2 separate regions of the Homo sapiens genome follow, and region 1 is linked to region 2. The links are contacts of gene promoters, found by promoter capture Hi-C in blood cells and fetal thymus (Javierre and others, 2016). All regions are on one chromosome and are shown on one strand. Each heading gives the region's core, a stretch centred on a gene start or on the middle of the fragment in contact. The rest is flanking DNA. Distances are from core to core; before and after follow the strand shown.

Region 1 (2,700 bases), core at 201-2,700, 210 kb before region 2:
AAATAAATTCACCAATATCCAGATTTTGTCAAAACTCTTATTTCTTTTCTCTGAGGTCTCAGACTCATCAAACATCCAAGGATAATTTTAGGATTCACTAGGCATTATCTGAGTATATCTCCCTGTCATAAAGGTTCATAGTTTTGTTTTTAATTGAAATATCTTCAAATGCTTTTCCTTCTTAAATAAATGCTTACATAGGTAACATAAGTGAATCTTACTGAGTCAGTGATAAAAATTCCCTGAAGTAAACATAAACTCCATAATGCAGTTATTTTTAAAACTTTATTTTAAAAATATGAGCATCTATTTTAAAAGTTTTGATAATTATTGCCATTATTTTCTTGTGATTGGTACAATTTAAAAATAAGTCTATGTTTTCACATTGATTTTAAAAAATATAGCATGTTTGAATTACAAATGATTAAGCAAACTCTATTACTTCATAGCTGACCATCTTCCAGAAAATTCCCACTTAATTGAATACTTAGAAAAAAATGGCCAGTGGCCGATTGAAAGGTATATTAAAATTAAGGGCAGTTTTAATTCTGAAGACAAATATCTTCATGGAAATCTATTTGTAAGCTTCTGAGATTGCTGCTGAAAGTCTACAGTCTGTGAATATACCAATTCCCCTTTACAACTGATGCAGATCATTATGAAATACTGGAAGGCATACCCTACAATTTAGGAATTGGTGTGGCTGCCACTGCTATGCTCTCAATTGCACACTCATCAGTTCCTCTGCGGATCCGGAAGTAGCCATTCTCACCCCAGCCGGTGCCCCAGCTGTTTTTAACAATCCAGTAATCCATCCCAGAGGCTGAGTCAGTGCCATAGCCCACAAGCAGAACAGCATGATTAGTCAGCTCAAAGGGGTTGAAAGGGTCTCTTAGACCAGTGTGGTGGTAGATCCCCTTTTTGTAGTGGAGGAAGTCATCATATACTTCAAAAGCAACTGCCATGGGCCCATGATGGACCAACTCAAGCTTCATCAGGGCTTCATTGCAGCCTCCATAGAAACCTCCTACATAGTGGTACTCAGAGGAGTAATAACGAAAGCAGTCTTCCTTCATTTTGCATGGAGAATCAGTGCCTGTGTAGGGGAAGCAAGCTTCTTCCACCAGCCCAAAATCTTGGGCGTACTTTCCTGCAATAAGGTATGGGAAGCCGCCTTCACAGCCTGAAGATGAATAACACACATGGTTACCCCTTAGTAGAAAAAGGATTATCCCATTTTCTATTTTTTCTTCTTTGCTCCATTATTCTTTGCATGTTACCCCTGAAAGTTGTTCTTAGCTTAAGCATCACTTCATTCATCCATCCATTTTCCAACTAGCTAACTATCCTTTCATCCTCCTTCTACTTAACAGATATCTACTTAGCACCTAATATGGATGTAGCTATGGCAAAGTGGTTAAGTGGGGAGGCTCTGAAGCCTATATAGGTTTAAAGCCAAAGCCGTGTGAAGAGTTTAACTTCTCTGTATCTCTGCTTACTTACCTGTAAAATCTAGATGGTAGTAGTACTTTCCTCATAGGGTTAAATTAGTTACTTCATGTAAAAATAGCAAAAGTTAGGTATTATGGTCATTGCTAAGCAGCCAGACCCCACAACTTGGCTCTTTCTCAAGCAAGTCTTTTCCCTGACAACCTCTTGCCGAAATGTCTTTCCTACCTTCCTCATGCAGTCCTGGCCCTATTATATATATTATAACTCTGTACTTTTTCTTCACTGTTCTTCACTCTGTTGTTATAATTATTTAATCTCTATCTCTTACTTAACTGTAAGCTTCATGAGGATAAAGATTGTCTTGATATATTATAGCCCCTATAGCCTACAAGTCACAACTAGTAGTACATATTTTAGAAAGAATGAAAGGCTCACTGGCAAATAATCACTCATCAGCAGTTTCACTAGTGAGCTGGGAAATTCCTAGTGGCCAAATCTGGGCTTGAAAGCATAAACTTTAAAATGGTAACGTTTCTCCCTCAATCAATTATAGCTGTGTTTTCGACATACATCACATACAGCCTGATCTGAAAGCCTAAGTACAGATTTTTTTTTTTTCATAACAGGGCCTCACTCCGTTTGCCCAGGCTGGAGTGCAGTGGCATGATATCGGCTCACTGCAGCCTTGACCTCCTGGGCTCAGGTGATTCTTACACCTCCGCCTCCTGAATAGCTGGGACTACAAGCACACACCACCACGCCCAGCTAATTTTTTGTATTTTTAATAGAGAAGGGGTTTCGCCGTGTTGCCCAGGCTGGTCTCAAACTCTAGGACTCAAGAGATTCACCCATCTCAGCCTCCCAAAGTGATAGGGTTATAGGCATAAGCCACTGTGCCCAGCCCTAAGTACAGAATTTTAAAATTCTCCCAGAGAGAAACCAGTGTTAGTATAGTTTTAATAAAAGTTGGGTTTTGGAGACGATGATTAGAAGTGAAACTCCAATGCTAAAAGCTGTGAGACCTTCAAATTATTAGAAAAATTTCTTAGTTCCTGTTCCCCGCCCATAAATAGGGATTATACTTACTACTTCTCAGAGTTTTGAGCATTGTTAGGCAATATATGTAACAAGCAGAGCTCACTCAATATATAGTAACTATTGACATTTTGCTGGATGGTACAGTAAATTCCATGAGCAATCATCCATTAATAAGTGATAGGGCCAGACTTGCACTCAGATTTTCTGACT
Region 2 (2,700 bases), core at 103-2,602:
GCCAGCATTCAGCAGCAATTATAACAGAGGAAAAGCATTCTCTCTGTGGTGTTCAATATCAATTTACTAAGTTGTCCTTGATAGACAGTTCCAAGGTTGCATATGAGTTCAAACCTCAATAGGTTTCCTCCAGGATATATGCTTTAAGTTGGACAGGAACTTGTTAAGCTCCACAAATAACATTGATATAACAAATTTAAGCTTCCTGCTGAATATTAACTGTATACTAAATACTACATTGACACTAATAATAGCTACTATTGAGCATTTATCAGGAATGTTGAAATGATAGAAACTTCACAGATTATTGTAACTCACTTCTGCATTTAAAGCAAGAGGAACAAGTTGTAGAGAAATCAGAGTGATTTATCCAAAGTCAGTTGGTGACAGGTAAGAGATCCTGGCTTTTAATTCAATGCTATTTCTATTGCATCCGCTGGTTTTAAATGGCCTTCCATAATTTGATGGAGTCTGATAAGGCTCTTTGGATTTTTAGAAGGTAATTTCCTGTACCTGGTTTGTATATGTCACTTCATCCTCAATTTTATGTGAACATATTACCATTCATATCACGTTAGAATAAAAGATACTGAAGGGAAGAGTCTGACAAAACAGATAAAATGGCTTTCTTTGTTAAGATCAAACACATTCTGTATAATATATGTATCTACATATGTATATATATCATTATGCATTTAATACAATGTCAGAAGCATAAATCAAATATATTTTTAAATATACCTTGTTTTTCTCTTCCATACATCAAGCATCTACCTTATATTCTGCTGTTAGTTTTTCACTAATTTGTGTCCAGGGAATGTATATTTGCTCAAGAATCAGTCAAAGTAAAACTTTTTTTTTTTCTGGAAAAATTATGTAATATGCACATACATCTACACACAAACACACATATACACAGAGACACATGCAGATGGACTCAAAAGTCAAATGTCTATATAAATATGTATGTTTGTAAACACACATCTATACACACACAAATAATCTATTTTATCTGTGTGATGTTACCTCTATCAACACATATAATTATGAAACTATTTCTATAATTTGTATGTCTAGATGCATAAACAATGCATATTTCCTATATATTTTTTTAAGTACTTCTTTATGTAACAGTTGTTTGTAGATGTGTTTGGGGACAACATCTCTGGTTGGTTTGTGGTTGGTTTATATTTTCATTTAAATCTATACAGTCCACTGCTTACTTTGTAAACCCCATAATTCAAATGTATAGATCATCCAGTATTCAAGATTAATTAGTATCATGGCTCTTTTCATCTCAGAAAACACTATTAAGACAACATTCTAAACATTTGAGGGGAATAATCTTAAAATCATATTATAGGTTTTTTAATTTTTTTGAAAAGTAACTGGCTTCACAAACACCAAGTACAACATGATTTAGACAACTGAGAAACAGGCAAGTATATTTTGAAGTGCTAAAATAAAACATATTTATACAAGTACAAAGCAAAACAATGCTGATAAAAATGTTAAACTTTATGAAAAAAAATCATTTGCAGTTCACATCAAAATAATTTAACATTCTCTATTATTTTAATAGTACAAGCTGCCACAACAGAGAAAGAACAGATACACGCACACAATTTTAAAACCAAATCAGTTATAAGTGCAGAAAAAAGTAAGTACAAGCACTTTTAGCCCACACAAATCTTTTAGGATTGGCACCATCTTTCTAAAACATCTATAATCTATATAGATTTCTAATTACAACACCATCAGCAGCTGCCATTGATTTCTAGAAATACACACAATATACATAGTATATTTGTTCACATTGGGAAGATCAGTGAAATTCAACCAACTATTTTATACATGCCTCATTCTTCAATAGACAGTAGAGACTCTCCCAGGCCTCAGACCCTCTTCAAAGTGAATTCTGACTTGTCTTTATGCTTTCACTGATCTGTATTTTTTCACAGTATAAAATTGTAAATGGTAACTATAGAGATTCTGACAGCTTGAGGGTTATTAATAAGCTGTTGCTAAATGTGAACTCACATAATACCTTTGAAGTCTCCAAAACATGTACATTTTACTGGGAGACTAGCATAGGAAATGCTTTTGTTTTTTGTTATTCTTAAAAAGAGCATTTAATTCCTGGCTTGGAAGTCACAGAACTGCAGCAGAGCTATTATACAATTCATTTACAGTCAGAAATAGCTCCTAGTCTTCCTGATCACTTGCTGGTAACAGCAGTAGTTTGGGAAAGATAGTTACTTTCAAGGATTAGCACGTTTGGGGATTTGCTTTTTTTCCTTGCTTCAGTCAAATCTCTTATAATTTTTCTTTCCATACTCCCTTTCTGTTCCCCATCCCTAGCCCAGAAAGACGGTTCTTCCCAATCCAGATATGTTCTTCTTAGGCTGCCCCCACTCCTTTCCCAAAATGGAAGGATGAGTGGACTGCTTAGATTAGTCAGTATAACTTGGTTAAACCACGTCTTCTTCTTTCCATCCTGGGACATATCTCTCATTTAGGGTCACTTTGCTGAGCCTTAGCATATCCCCTTCCTTTTAGTCATGCTGGTCCCGACTGAATTATCACTGGGCACCAGGAACAGATTGTTTTGAAGGAAATTCAATGAGAATGTACCCAAATGAATTGTGAAGTTCATATCCTATAGCCCTAGAATGAATATTCAGTTCTCTTTGTACTGTA

What was found. Contacts are between HindIII fragments. The CHiCAGO score rates a contact against its expected background, and 5 or more counts as called.
Region 1: a contact is called between a fragment that was not itself captured here and the fragment with the promoter of GRM5-AS1 in region 2, in 2 of 17 cell types (activated CD4 T cells and total CD8 T cells). The highest score is 6.0, in activated CD4 T cells.

Annotation. Positions count from the first base shown.
Region 1 is chr11:88,293,326-88,296,025 of GRCh38, forward strand. CTSC (cathepsin C) reads right to left here. Exons shown (of 7, transcript NM_001814.6): 7 at 267-1,183. The coding sequence ends at 681. Among named protein-coding and RNA genes, the nearest start is that of CTSC, 43 kb to the right of the region's middle. The HindIII fragment of the contact is 677 bases long and covers 1,113-1,789 here.
Region 2 is chr11:88,503,224-88,505,923 of GRCh38, forward strand. It overlaps GRM5-AS1 (GRM5 antisense RNA 1), which reads left to right and starts at 1,353. Exons shown (of 6, transcript NR_049724.1): 1 at 1,353-2,700. It overlaps GRM5 (glutamate metabotropic receptor 5), which reads right to left. Exons shown (of 10, transcript NM_001143831.3): 10 at 1,419-2,700. The HindIII fragment of the contact is 8,959 bases long and covers 200-2,700 here.